Linked DNA regions of Homo sapiens: region 2 is linked to region 1. The links are contacts of gene promoters, found by promoter capture Hi-C in human tissues and cell types (Jung and others, 2019). All regions are on one chromosome and are shown on one strand. The core of a region is centred on a gene start or on the middle of the fragment in contact, and the rest is flanking DNA. Distances in the headings are between cores, read along the strand shown.

Evidence for each region. Contacts are between HindIII fragments. The study calls those that stand out against the background at their distance.
Region 2: a contact is called between a fragment that was not itself captured here and the fragment with the promoter of IL25 in region 1, in 1 of the 25 tissues and cell types used here (thymus).

The regions. Positions count from the first base shown.
Region 1 is chr14:23,370,310-23,377,979 of GRCh38, forward strand. IL25 (interleukin 25) reads left to right here and starts at 2,500. Exons shown (of 3, transcript NM_172314.2): 1 at 2,500-2,666; 2 at 2,867-3,087; 3 at 5,316-6,094. The coding sequence starts at 2,658. The coding sequence ends at 5,571. CMTM5 (CKLF like MARVEL transmembrane domain containing 5) reads left to right here and starts at 6,737. Exons shown (of 6, transcript NM_001288746.2): 1 at 6,737-7,068. The coding sequence starts at 6,943. The HindIII fragment of the contact is 4,168 bases long and covers 1,748-5,915 here.
Region 2 is chr14:23,195,588-23,203,007 of GRCh38, forward strand. It overlaps LOC105370406 (a long non-coding RNA gene), which reads right to left. Exons shown (of 4, transcript XR_943606.3): 3 at 5,117-5,275. It also overlaps a transcript of RNF212B not described here. Among named protein-coding and RNA genes, the nearest start is that of SLC7A8, 16 kb to the left of the region's middle. RefSeq lists an enhancer at 2,438-3,222. The HindIII fragment of the contact is 5,166 bases long and covers 1,578-6,743 here.

The DNA.
Region 1 (7,670 bases), core at 1,250-3,749:
CTGCCTCCAGCCTTCTCCCCATTGCCACCCCCCTATCCTCACACCCCCAAGGGTTCCCTGGAAGCTGAAGTGACTCAGGGATTCCAAAACTAGTCACCTCAGGAGGAAACCCCACTGGAAAATGTTTCTCATGACAGGGAGTCACCCTAAGGAGTCCCACAAAGCTGCTACTGAGATAAGGACAGAGGGTGAGCAAGTGGGGTGGGGTGGGGGCATGTGGCTCAGAGCACAGGTTCTCAGGTCAGTCCTGGTCATCATGGGGGTGGGAAAAGCCAACCCTTCCTGGAGGGTTTCTCCCTCTGTCCTAGAGGGACACCCCAAAGGACTCTTCTGAAGGGCAACGTTCCTGGTGACCTAGGCTGGGTCCTCCCTGCAGCGTCAGCAAGTGAAACAGGTAGTTGGGATCACTTCTGGCTCCTTTGAACACCCCCTCCTGGGCAAGGGTCAAGATAGGAGATCTGAGCCAACTCCATTTCTACTACCTTCTTAGCCCTGAGGTTCTGATTGGTGAGAGCGAGACCCATAGGTATCCAGCTCTTCTGAAACGGCACTGCCTCCTAAGATCCTGTTCTGGGATTGAGGTTTTCCCAGGAGCACGGGAAGCCACCTTGAGGCCATGTCTGCCAGACAAAAGGCTAGGAAAGGGAGCTAGTGCAGTGAATCCGAACAGCAGGGCTGGATACCTAAGTGGGCAGACACACCCTGTGGCCCTCAGCAGGTGCAGTTGAAACTTGTCCCAACCCAAGCCCAGGTGAGCAGGAAAGCATTCACTGTGGGGCTCCCCTTCCATTCACAGCCAACTAGGGGTAGGCACGGTGTGGCACTTCCATGCCAGGAGGTTACATGTGGAATTGGTCAGAGCTGGAATGGGAAACCAGCTCAGCCTCTTTCTTTGTGATCTTGGGTAAGTTACTAAATTTCCTTGGGCCTCAGTTTCCTCATCTGTAACATGGGGATAATAGTTTCCATGTCATGGTTTCATTGTCGGGATAAAATGAGATGATGCATGCCCAGGGCTTAGCACCATGCCTGGCACATGTAAGTGCACAGGAGCTGAGGCCAGCAGGATATGGAAGGGAGAGGACGTCTGCGAGTACTGGGGGCAGAGGGTGAGGCAGTGAGAGTGGGGCCATGATACTGGCCTCATCACTGTTCCTGAGTGCCCCTGCTTTCCCAGCCACCACCTGCTTCTTCTAAGTGCCCTCCATCCCACAGTTCCAGGTGCCCCAAGACTCATCAGAGCAGAGCAGTTTCTCCCAATTTTCCAGATTGCCCTTTGACTTCATCACTTCTCTCTTTTGGGGCTGCTTTGCCCTAACGCATTGGAAAGATTCCTCTCACTGCAGTTTAAGTTATTCCTGGTTCCCTTTGTTGATTTCCTAGTCCTTGGTTACTAGAGGAGTATTTTCTAAGGGAAAGCACATGCAAATCAAGCCACATCATTCTAGGGGCAATGTCTGTGTATGGGTATGTTGGGTGCGTATGGGGGATGAGGCAGGCCAATAGGCAAGCATGAAGAGAAGGACCTGGGGGGAAGGACACACTGGCCCACTCTCAGCACAGTGTCTCCCAAGCAGGCTGGACCCGGCTGACCTGTGTCTTTGGGGTCAAGCCCAACTGTAAGCCTTTCTGGGGCACACATACACCCTCCTGGCTAACAGTGGCCCATGTTTCTGGACCTGCTGAGGCTGAGTGGGCTCACTTCATGGCCTGAAAGCAGTAGCTGACCCTGTCATGGGCTTGGTCCCCAAGGCTCTGTGAATGAGAGCAGGTTGGTTCCTGGAACTGAGACCTCCTTCCTGTTGGGTCTTAGGTGAGGCTGTTTCAGTTTCCCTCCTCTTCCTTGCTTCACCTTCTCATTTGTGCAATGGGGACACTCACCCACAGCTTCTTCCATCAGACCTTGCCCATCCAGCCAACAAACTTAGGAAGTCAGGGTCTTCCAGCAGCCCTGTGAGGGTAGGCTTGTATCCCCGGTGGGGGGCAGTGACTGGCGAGGGCAAGGGGGAGTTAGGGAGTGGGTCATGGACAATGGGGGAGAAGTCATAGCTGATGGGGGTCATAGAATTTTGGGGTCATTGAAAATGTGGAAGAGGTCAGAGAACAAAGGGGATGGGAGTCAAAGGATGTCTAAGGGAAAGGAAATAATCACGAAGGTGGATGATCAGAGGGACACCTGGGAAGAGGGGAATGGTGAAACCAGACCCTGGATGGGGGGAGCAGGGATCATGGAAACGAGGCCTCTTGAAGGGAGGCCACAAGACATTTCCTAATTTTGGCTACCAAACCAACCAGGGAAATCCCGCTAATGCCAGTTCACAAGAATGCAGAACAGCAGACTGTTATTGCTTTGACCCCATGGCCAGAAAAATTCAAAGAGCAAAGTTTACCCAATCAGCTACCAGGCATATAATGATGGTCATCACAACTTCCATGAGTATTGCATTTTAAGCAGCCTTTGGAAATACTTTCAGAGTTTTTTTGGTTTTGTTTTTTAACCTCAAGTCACTCCCTAAAAAGACAGTGGAAATAAATTTGAATAAACAAAACAGGCTTGCTGAAAATAAAATCAGGACTCCTAACCTGCTCCAGTCAGCCTGCTTCCACGAGGCCTGTCAGTCAGTGCCCCACTTGTGACTGAGTGTGCAGTGCCCAGCATGTACCAGGTCAGTGCAGAGGGCTGCCTGAGGGCTGTGCTGAGAGGGAGAGGAGCAGAGATGCTGCTGAGGGTGGAGGGAGGCCAAGCTGCCAGGTTTGGGGCTGGGGGCCAAGTGGAGTGAGAAACTGGGATCCCAGGGGGAGGGTGCAGATGAGGGAGCGACCCAGATTAGGTGAGGACAGTTCTCTCATTAGCCTTTTCCTACAGGTGGTTGCATTCTTGGCAATGGTCATGGGAACCCACACCTACAGCCACTGGCCCAGCTGCTGCCCCAGCAAAGGGCAGGACACCTCTGAGGAGCTGCTGAGGTGGAGCACTGTGCCTGTGCCTCCCCTAGAGCCTGCTAGGCCCAACCGCCACCCAGAGTCCTGTAGGGCCAGTGAAGATGGACCCCTCAACAGCAGGGCCATCTCCCCCTGGAGATATGAGTGAGTCTGCTGCCCCTCCCGAATGCCTGCCCTGTGTGTGCTGGCCAGGGTATGCGTGAGGGACCAGGGCAATTCCAGCTTACTTTCCCATTTTGATCTCAGAGGGGCTGTAAAGGTTTGGGAGTTAGACAAGGTCTGTATTTGAGTCCTAGCTCTGACTCTCATTGGATGATCTTGAGTCAATTCAAGTTTTCAAAACTCAGGGTTTTTTTTTTTTTCACCTGCAAAATGATATAATGCCCCATAGGCTAATGTGCAGATCAAATGAAATATAATGTATGTAAAAGTCTGTATTTATGTTGGTTCTCTCCTTTTCTTTTAAAACATCCCTATAATGGCCCATGTTTTTTCTGGGTAAAATATTAGGGAATAATGGCATGATACAGGCATGAAGCATCCCAATACCAATTGATACTGCCCTGGCCATGAATGGGTTAGTTATAAGCATACTAAAGGAGTGAAACCCTTAACTTTTGGGGGCAGCTGGCTGGCTGGAGCTGTGGACTGGATATCTTTGATCATGATCATGGGTACTGTATTCTTTCACTCAGTGTGCCACATAAATATTATAGTTCTCTATTTGTGCCATGATATGAAAAATATTAGGAAGTGCTGAAATATGAATGATGAAGCAAAATATTAAAAACTAGGGTCTTAGGGATTCCAGACATGTGATTTCACTTCTTCCTTCTAGTTCTGTCTTAGCATTGGCTTTGGGGGTAGATGGAGAAGTTCAGTGGTGGGGAGGGGGTCAGATCTAACTGAGATTGGATCTAGTGTGGACACTACAGGTCATGACTCTTTGGAGTGGTCTCAGAAGCTGGCTGGGTCCTGGGCCAAATCAGATGGCATGGGAGCTTCTTAGGGGAGGCGGGTGCCAGAGGTTAACTCAGCTGTCTTCCAGACCCCTTGCTGGGAGTCTGTGAACCCGAGAACCACTCAGGTGGCTTTCCCCAAAGTGTGTTCTGTGCAATGCTCATCCCATGAGCTGCTTCTCAGAAAAAAGTGATGCCAGGTAAACTTGGGAAAGACTGCTGTATCTCCTACCCCTTGGAGATTCATACTGTCATTGTACATTAAAGTCTGCAAGAAGTCTGTAGAAAGTAAACCGTTAAACTGGTGTTTCCCAAATTCATTTAAGCACCCAACAGGTGCAGGTGATTTATTAGGGAACCCACTTTGGGAAGTGATGTGCTAGCTAATTCCATTTGCCAGGGCTTGTCTGTGTGGGGAATGGTCCCACAAGCTGGAGACTGTCGCCTGCCAGACTAATGGAGTCGCAGACCTGTGGGACATCTACTTTTCAGTGTTTTTCATCTTTCTTTCTTTCTTTCTTTTTTTTTTTTTGCCATGAAATCCTTTCAGAATAAGTAAATAAGTCTTCCCATGCACTCTCAAGTATGCTTATAATATAAGCTTGCACAGCGTCTGGAAGAATGTGCAGGAAATAGTTGAGGATAGCTTCTTCTGGGGAGTGGGGCTGGTAGGGAGAGACTATTAACTTTCACTCTTTATACTCTTTAATACTTGGATGTCAGAGTGGTTTTTACTTTTGCAATAATGCTATAATAATAATAGAAACACCACCTAAAGTCCGGCCCGGTGGCTCATGCCTGTAATCCCAGCACTTTGGGAGGTCGAGGTGGGTGGATTACCTAAGGTCAGGAGTTCAAGACCAGCCTGGCCAACCATGGCCAACATCATGAAACCCCATCTCTACTAAAAATATGAAAATTAGCTGGGTATGGTGGCGGGCATCAGGAGAATCGCTCGAACCCAGGAGGTAGAGGTTGCAGTTGAGCCAAGATCGTGCCACTGCACTCCAGCTTGGGTACTCCGTCTCAAAAAAACAAAAACAAAAAATCAAAAAACAAACAAAAACACCTAAAGTGTAATCATTACAATAAGAAACCTCATGCTGAGTCAGATAGAAGCAGTGCTGGTCAATGGAGGCTAAGGCAGGAGCCTGCTCACCCTCCCCTGCCTCCCTCACGGTCCCAGGACCAGTTGGAAAGCACTCTGTCACCTGCTACCCTCATTTACAGTGGGGAAAATTTAATAAAGGAGGGAGGTGACTTGTTCAAAGTTACACAGCAAGTGGGTTCAGAACTGAGACAAGAGGCCAAGGCCCCAGACGGACCATTTCCTTCTTCTGGCACTCCCATGCCACCCCACCCTCTCTGTTTCCGGCCCATCTTTCCAAGGCCTGACAAGTGCCGCCCCCACAGGTTGGACAGAGACTTGAACCGGCTCCCCCAGGACCTGTACCACGCCCGTTGCCTGTGCCCGCACTGCGTCAGCCTACAGACAGGCTCCCACATGGACCCCCGGGGCAACTCGGAGCTGCTCTACCACAACCAGACTGTCTTCTACCGGCGGCCATGCCATGGCGAGAAGGGCACCCACAAGGGCTACTGCCTGGAGCGCAGGCTGTACCGTGTTTCCTTAGCTTGTGTGTGTGTGCGGCCCCGTGTGATGGGCTAGCCGGACCTGCTGGAGGCTGGTCCCTTTTTGGGAAACCTGGAGCCAGGTGTACAACCACTTGCCATGAAGGGCCAGGATGCCCAGATGCTTGGCCCCTGTGAAGTGCTGTCTGGAGCAGCAGGATCCCGGGACAGGATGGGGGGCTTTGGGGAAAGCCTGCACTTCTGCACATTTTGAAAAGAGCAGCTGCTGCTTAGGGCCGCCGGAAGCTGGTGTCCTGTCATTTTCTCTCAGGAAAGGTTTTCAAAGTTCTGCCCATTTCTGGAGGCCACCACTCCTGTCTCTTCCTCTTTTCCCATCCCCTGCTACCCTGGCCCAGCACAGGCACTTTCTAGATATTTCCCCCTTGCTGGAGAAGAAAGAGCCCCTGGTTTTATTTGTTTGTTTACTCATCACTCAGTGAGCATCTACTTTGGGTGCATTCTAGTGTAGTTACTAGTCTTTTGACATGGATGATTCTGAGGAGGAAGCTGTTATTGAATGTATAGAGATTTATCCAAATAAATATCTTTATTTAAAAATGGCCTAATCTGTATTTGGCATCCGTGGTGCCTGAACATCTCGCGGTCTCCCAGCCTGTCCCTTCTCCTTTCCACCATTGGCCCTCACCTCTGTCCACCCTGCCAGCTCTCTCCGCCCTCCAGAGTTTCCGCTGCACCCTCCCGTCCTCTCCCATCTCTGTCTCCCTGGCCCATCCCAAACACCAGGGTGGGGGCTAGGCCGCGCTCCCGGCATGCTGGAGAGACAGAGGCCCATTGAGGCATTGCAGCAGGCACAGAGCGCCCCCTTGTCCCCCAACAATCCGCCTTTGTCCTCCAGTCCTGGCTGCTGCAGCTTGGTCCTGGGGGTGCTGCCTGGGCTGGGCTCCAGCTCACACCCTCCCTAAAAGGAAATGGGAGAAAGGACCGGCCAAACAAGAGGGTTAAGGTTAGAGAAGGGGGACACAAATGTCTTCAGGCTTAGGTCCCTGGGGGCTCCCAGTCCTGCCCCTGTTCCTCTACTCACATCCCAGCTCCTCCCAGTTTCTTTTCGGACCTCCTCCTCTCCCCTTCCTTCTCTATTCCAGGCTGGGTTGGGCTCTAAGCAAGGGGAGGGATTAGAGCCTCCTTCCTCTCTGCCCCTCCCCATGGGTCTCTAGGGGGCTGGTGCAGGCAGCAGCAGAGGCACTCTGGGCAGCTGGGTGAGGGCCCATCTGGGCAAGGCCCCCAGCGCCTGCCTTCTCTCCCGGGGCCCTGTGGGCAAGCCTCCTGCTTCACTTTCAGGTTTCTCGAAGTGCCTTCTTGCTCCTGTCTGTTTCCCCATCCTGCCAGATTTCTGTTTCTCTTGCTGGGCTTTTGGCAGTAGGGGGCTGTGTTGGTGGGCCCTACGAAGATGCTCAGTGCTCGAGATCGCCGGGACCGGCACCCTGAGGAGGGGGTAGTTGCAGAGCTCCAGGGCTTCGCGGTGGACAAGGCCTTCCTCACCTCCCACAAGGGCATCCTGCTGGAAACCGAGCTGGTAACAGCTGCCTCCCAACCTGGTGCCTCCATCTCCCTGACCCCCGGCTCCTGGCCAGCCTTATGCCAGCCCCCAGCTCACCCTTCAGTAGCCTCCTTCCCCAAGCCCTCTGGACACCTCTCCTGCCCGCAGCTGCCCCTTCTTCGTCTCCTACTCTGCCTTCTTGCTGCCTCTCCACCCGGAGACATTTACAGCAGGTTTCAGTTGCAGCAGGAAGGACTGCAGTTAGACAGGGTGACTTTTTGGGACATTGAGGAAGCTTGAGACATAGGGATGGGACAGGGGCAATGACAGCCTCTAACATGGCCACTTCTCAGCACGTCCAAGAAGTCTAACTATCAAAAAGGGCAGACTTCCTGCAACTGCACTTTATCTGTGGTCTGCTGCCCAGAAACATCTCTTCTCAGGAAAGGATCTTCCCCTGGTTACTTAGCAAGACCACAGTGTAGAGTTAAGGCCTCTGCACGTATGCCACCCTAGGTCATCAGAGCTAAAGGGGCTCCCAGAAACCACTGGGCAGCATCTGCCTTCTCTCTTGGCATGGAATCAAAGGCTCTGGTCCTTGTCAGGGGGCTTTCAGGCATCTGGGGGTGGGGAAAGCA
Region 2 (7,420 bases), core at 2,911-5,410, 170 kb before region 1:
CGTGTGCTCAGTATCTTCTTCCAACACTCCCTGGACCTCCACACCTCAAATGAAACCTGTGCTCTCCCGACAGCACATCCACCCTCCTAATACTCCTCAGTAGAGATGGGTCCTTGCCATGTTCTGATGGCACCTGGACGGTGGAAGGGACTAGCATGTATTGAGCAATCACTATGTGCCAGACACTTCATGTAACAAGGAATTTCATCATGTTTAATTTCGTTTAACCTTCCAAACAACCTTTCAAGGTAAACGTTGTTTTGCATTTTACAAAGGAGGAAACGGGTTCAAAATTATGTGACTTGCCAAGGACACACACAATGGCAGAGCTGTAATTGGACTCTAAATCTTGATTGACCTCACTGCATTTGCTCTTTTCACTGTGCCACGGGAGAAAAAAGGTACAACATTCTTTTCTGTCTCAGTTGCTTTCAATCATGACATTGTTATTTCTCAATTCTTCTCTGGATGCTTACTACCACTTGGTCACATCCTCAATTGCTGCTGTCTACTGACCTCTGAAAACTTCCTTATGAACGGGAGCACCTGGCTTAGCATTTACTCTGCAAATCAGAGCCTAGACACTTAGCCACCATGGAAAAGTGCCTTTTACCAGGTGCCGAAAAATTTCTTTCTGATTGTAACTACCAATCCTCTGAGTGCCCACTGTCTCTCTGTCATTATTCTTTCTGCTCTTTCTCCAGCCTGCCCCGCTCCGCCATTATCATGCCAAAATGCATGGCCCAACCTCCAGCTGGCTTCCAAGCCCACTCTGCGTCACCACTGCTCTCTGTGCCACAGCCACACCAACCTCCTTTCAGTCCTCAGATGACCTACCAAAGGGCTCAAAAAAACAAAAACAAAAACATAGAAACAGGGGCCTGCTCTGTCACACGGGCTGGAGGGCAGTGGAGTGATCATAGCTCACTACAGCCTTGAATTCCTGGGCTCAAGCAATCCTCCCGCCTCAGCCTCCTGAGTAGCTAGGACTACAGGGCTGCACCACCATGCCCAGCTAATTTTTAAAATATTTTTATAGAGATGGGGTCTTGCTATGTTGCCCAGGCTGATCTTGAACTCCTGGTCTCAAGCAATCCTCCTGCCTAGGCCTCCTAAAGTGCTGGGATTACAGGCATGAGCCACTGTTCTAGGGCCCAAAGGGCTTTTTTTGTGTCCATGCTCTTCCTTCTGCCTAGAGGCTTCTCTTCGCCCTTAGCCTAGTTCACTGCTATTCATCCTTCTGATTTAGCACAATTGTTACTTCCTCAAAGAAGCCCCCACCCACCCCATTCCTGGCCCTAGAGTGTGTTCTTTGTTTCAGAGTCCTCACTTGTGATAACTAGAGTGATTTTATGATTAATGTCTACCTCCCCATCTAGACTGCAAACTCCATGAGTGCAGGGACAATGGTGCTTTTTTTGCTCACTAATGTCTTCAGGGCCCAGTACAGTGCCTAGGACTAAGTAGGTACCCAATTTAAAATTGCTGAATGAATGTATATAGGACATGTATGTGGTAACACTTGGTGGACAGTTGGATATATGGTATCCCTAGCCCAGGAGAAAGATTTGGGCTAAAAAATCATATTTAAGTGTTATTAGTACATAAGTGGTCACTGATGTTATCATCCAGAAAGGGTGAGAAAAATATAACGAGAGGCCAGGCACTGTGGCTCACGCCTGTAAGCCCGGCACTTTGGGAGGCTGAGGCAGGTGGATTTCATGAGGCCATGAGTTTGAGACCAGCCTGGCCAACATGGTGAAACCCTGTCTCTACTAAAAATACAAAAATTAGCCATGTGTGGTGGTACATGCCTGTAGTCCCAGCTACTTGGGAGGTCGAGGCATGAGAATTGCTTGAACCCGGGAGGCGGAGGTTGCAGTGAGCTGAGATCATGCCACTGCACTCCAGCCTGGCAACAGAGCGAGACTCCATCTCAAAAATAATTTTCACTAATTTGCCTATATTAAAAGTAAATATTAAATAAGCAAATTAAAAATTATTTAAAAAAACAAATATAATTAAAAAATAATAAAAAATATTGTATAATAAAGAATTTCAAACATTCCCCAAAGGAGAGAGAATAATACAATGAACTCTCATGTATCAGAATCCTCACCCAGATTCTACAATTATCAAGATTTTGCTATGTTGTTTTATCTACCTATTTCCCCCTTCTATGTCTTGTCTTCTTTTTTTTTTTTTTGAGCAACATGGCTGTTTATTTCACCTGGGTGCAGGCGGGCTGAGTCCAAAAAGAGAGTCAGCGAAGGGAGATAGGGGTGGGGCCATTTCATAGGATTTGGGAAGGTAATGGAAAATTACAGTCAAAGGGGGTTGTTCTCTGGTGGGCAGGCGGGGATCTCACAAAGTACATTCTTAAGGGCGGGGGAGATTACAAAGTACATTGATCAGTTAGGGTGGGGCAGGAACAAATCACAATGGTGGAATGTCATCAGTTAAGGCTGTTTTTACTTCTTTTGTGGATCTTCAGTTACTTCAGGCCATCTGGATGTGTACGTGCAAGTCACAGGGGATGCGATGGCCTGGCCTGGGCTCAGAGGCCTGACATTCCTGCCTTCTTATATGTCTTGTCTTCTTTACTGAAATGTTTAAAAAATAACTACAGACATCATGCTATTTCATCCCCACATATCTCAATAAGCACCTCTGAAAAAAATTATGGAATTGTCTTACATAACTCAAGGCCATTATCACACCTAATGAAATTAACAATAATTCCTTGGTATCAACTAATATCCAGTTTATAATCAAATTTCTTCAAATATCAAAAAAGGTCCACATACTGGAGCCAAGCGTGGTGGCTCACGCCTGAAATCTGAGCACTTTGGGAGGCGGAGGAGGGTGGATCACCTGAGGTCAGGAGACCTGCCTAGCCAACATAGTGAAACCCCCGTCTCTACTAAAAATAAAAAAAATCAGCTGGGCGTGGTGGCGGGTACCTGTAATCCCAGCCACTAGGGAAGCTGAAGCGGGAGAATCACTTGAACCTGGGAAGCAGAGGTTGCAGTGAGCCGAGATCGCGCCATGGCACTCCAGCCTGAGAACAAGAAAACTCTGTCCAAAAAAAAAAAAAGGTCCACGTACTGTATGTAAACACTATACTCTAGCTGGTAAGTCTGTTTCTCATGGTATATGGGTTAATAGTTCTCAAACGGCTTTACATATGTACTGGGGCTGAACAAATAAGTAAATGTATAGTGGATTTTGGGAGGAAGGGTTTTCACTATCAGAAAGAGAAGTAACATATAAGCAAGGAGGGAAAAATAGAATGAGCCCTTGGGTAGTGGATTAGAGTTGGTTAGCTAGCTTGGTATATATATAGACAGAAATATGTGTATATACATGAGTCGGTATACACACAAATATTACCTAGTGCTATACCTCACGCTGTCCACTGAGAGGGCCTAGAGGCAATGACACCCCCATAGCAATGGGCACATCTTGTGTCCAGATTTTGGTTTCAAAATACTGTGAACTCTGAAAATTTGAGACAGGTCTCAGTTAATTGTTTATTTTGCCAAGGTTGGGGACATGTGTCCGTGACAGCCTCAGGAAGTCCTGAAGACCTGTGCCCAAGGTGGTTGGGGTACAGCTTAGTTTTATACATTTTAGGGAGGCATGAGACATCAATCAATATATGTAAGAAGTACATTGGTTCAGTCTGGAAAGGCAGGAAGACTTGAAGTGGGGAGGAGGCTTCCAGGTCACAGATAGGTGATACACAAATGGTTACATTCTTTTGAGATTCTGTTAGCCTTTCCAAAGGAGGCAATCAGATATGCATCTATCTCAGTGAGCACAGGGGTGACTTTGAATAGAATGGGAGGCAGCTTTGCCCTAAGCAGTTCCCAGCTTGACTATTCCCTTTAGCTTAGTGATTTGGGGGCCCCAAGCTTTAATTTCCTTTCATATTTCCCCCCTTTCTTTTCAAAAATCTTTTGGAGAAGGCATTTTACAAGAAAATGAATCTCTGGTCTCAGGTTTCATTTGATCTCTCATGGCAAGGATGGTTTATTCCTAGACAGGTAGGTCCCGAACGAAGATTTTTAGCAGGTTGTGAAGTCTCATGTCCTATGAAGGAAAAATAGTGGGGAGGAAGGGAGAAAAAACAACAACAAACAAAAGAACATTCTTGGAAAATCTATATAGGCCACATTTCTCTGAAGTCTATAGTCAGTAGGCAGGTATGTAAATTGGTTGCTGTTATTTTCTTCTGAAGTTTAAGTTGTTTAGTCTCAGTTAGCTGGGCTTTAAGAAAGCACAGCTTAGTTTTCAGTGACTCCTAATTAGGAAACATGGGAAAAAAAGAAGGGAAAAAAAAGAAAAAGTTGAAAACATTATTTTGAAGACTTGTAGCCAAGAAACAATTAGAATTCAGCCCAAACTGTAGAACATAATAAAAAATTAAAAAAAAAAAAATTAGGCAAGACTAGACTCTAACAACGAGTGTACTATCGTCTTGAAACATTTTTTTCTCTCTCTCTCTAGTTTCCCATTTTACTAAAGATAAATCATGGTAGGATTGGTTTGCTTATTATGCTTGGCCAAATTATTTGTATACAGTTCAGCAAAAATAATTATTTTTTACATAGGCTTTTAAATGGGCTTTGATGAAACTTTGTTCCATAGGAGGAATCTCAGATAAGATTTTAAAGCTGAATCCAGCCATGAATTTGTGCCATCAAATACCTACAAGTTGGGTGAATTTCCTCTCCCCCAACTTTTTTTTTTTGAGACAGATTCTTGCTCTGTCACCCAGGCTAGAGTGCAATGGCATGATCTTGGCCCACTGCAACCTCTGCCTCCTGGGATCAAGCAATTCTCATGCCTCAGCTTCCCAAGTAGATGGGATTACAGGTGCGTGCCACTGTGTCTGGCTAATTTTTGTAATTTCAGCAGAGATGGGGTTTCACCATGTTGGCCAGGCTGGTCTCGAACTCCTGGCCTCAAGTGATCCACCCACCTCGGCCTCCCAAAGTGCTGGGATTACAGGTGTGAGCCACTGTACTTGGTCTGAATTTCCTCTCCTCTTGAGGATCCAAGATAAATCTGGGGCTTCCGTGCCTGTCAGAAAGTGATATTCTTTACTTACCACAGGCCAGAAACCCTGTACACGGACTGTGTACACAAAATATGAGGCCAGTTTTTCCAAGGGCTTTATTGGCTTCTTAAGTCAAGTTTGATTCCTTATAGGAAAGTGCACCATTCCAGTCAAAGCCTTGGTAAAACTACCAGTTTCTTCAATTGTGTCCTGTTAAAAATGAAAACAGATTCTTATTGCACTTATGCAACTAACTGTATTGCCAAAAGTTAAGAAGCTCACAAATAGTTTTCAAATTCTGGAGAAAATCAATTACAGAGAAACAAATATGCTCCAAATTTTGTTCATGGGAGTATACTAAATTGTTGAAAGCTGTCAATAGCTCAAAAGAAAAGTTTTAAGACTCTGAAAAACAGAATAAAGGATCAGCAACATTTTAAGCAAAAAGTCAAAAAGATTAGTTCAGTCCATGCAGTTAATTCCTGTTCTGCTTGATATTCATGAACATTTTAGCTCTCCATGAGTCTTGAAAGTTTTTTCTCTATTCTGATGTCACAATCTCCAAAGCTATCAGAAATCTGCACTCAAGAGCACCTGTTATAGTTTAATAGCTGGTTATAAAACCATCTTCTAAAGAGAACCAAAACAAGGCAACAATTGTCTGTGGATGACAAAAAGTTTTAGGGCAGCCATAGTCAAAAACATAATTGACAAGGGAATTTGTTACCTCTGTGGCACACAGTAATTTTAACTTAACATAACAATTATTGTTATTGATAATGTACACTAAGTTATATTAGAATTATAAGTTTCTCATAATTTTGGAACACATACCAATAACATTTATACAAATACAGCTCAAAGAAACCAAATAACCATTTCATATTTGACAATGCTTCCTGTATAATTTTTATACCAAATAAGCCAAATTATATTATTTTTGGACTTTAGGGAATGTAATATCTTAAAGGAGTAATTAGGTTAGAACAAGACACAATTTATAATTTAATTTTGGAAAGTTTGTCAAATATAAAAGGTTTAAAACACTTGATATTACAAAATAGGATTTCAGGTCATTGTAAAGTCATCTGTTTAACCAAAGTGGTAATTCAAGGATTTCAAAAATAGTGAAAACCTTCATTTATTGAGAGAGGGGACTTAATTTTCTAAACCTGAAGCCCTAATAAAAACAGCATGGAGCCAATTCCACTTGCTTTTCCAAATTTTGTAAGCAATCTATAAAGTTTATTCTTGAGTATAAAATATAACTTCCATAAACCTTTTATAACCTTTATAAACTTTATTAAGGAGTTGGAGGCCGGGCACAGTAGCTCATGCCTGTAATCCCAGCACTTTGTGAGGCCGAGGTGGGTGGACTGCTTGAGGTCCGGAGTTCGAGACCAGCTTGACCAACATGGTGAAACCCTATCTCTACTAAAAATACAAAAATTAGCCAAGCGTGGTGGTGTGCACTTGTAATCCCAGCTATTCGGGAGTCTGAGGCAGGAGAACTGCTTGAACCCAAGAGGAGGAGCTTGCAGTGAGCCGAGATTGCGCAACTGCACTCTAGCCTGGGCAACAGAACAAGACCCTGTCTTAAAAAAAAAAAAAAAAAAGCAGTTGGTTAATGCTTCACAAAAAACTTGTTAATCTAATACAGGGGTCCATATACTGGTTTTTGCATCAGTGTGTTTTTGACACTAATGATTAATTTATAGAGAAACTAAACTTATTTATCTTTCCAAATCGGCCCTTACAATCTTTGATCTTATGTGCCCACCTCTTCCGTGATAGTCCCTGGGCCTTGAGGAGTTGAATAGCTTTAATTTCTTGCCCTGTGTCTCAGGAATGCATTTTATTTTGATTGGCATCTTCTACAGGGCCTAAAGATGAGGCTTTAATTGCTGTCAGTGTTTAGGCTGGGCGTGATGGCTCACGCCTGTAATCCCAGCACTTCGGGAGGCCGAGGCGGGTGGATCACGAGGTCAGGAGATCGAGACCACCCTGGCTTACACGGTGAAACCCTGTCTCTACTAAAAATACAAAAAATTAGCCGGGCATGGTGGTGGGCACCTGTAGTCCCAGCTACTCGAGAGGCTGAGGCAGGAGAATGGCGTGAACCTGGGAGGTGGAGGTTGCAGTGAGCCAAGATTGGTCACTGCACTCTAGCCTGGGCGACAGAGCGAGACCCTGTCTCAAAAAAAAAAAAAAAAAAAATTGCTGTGAGTGTTTAAAATTTAACAGGACTTGGTGTCCATTTTAGACCCAGGAGTTAAAGCCCTCTAACTCAATGTTACAAGGACTTTATTTTATTTCATTTTATTTTGTTTTTTAATTTTTCCATAGGTTTTTTGG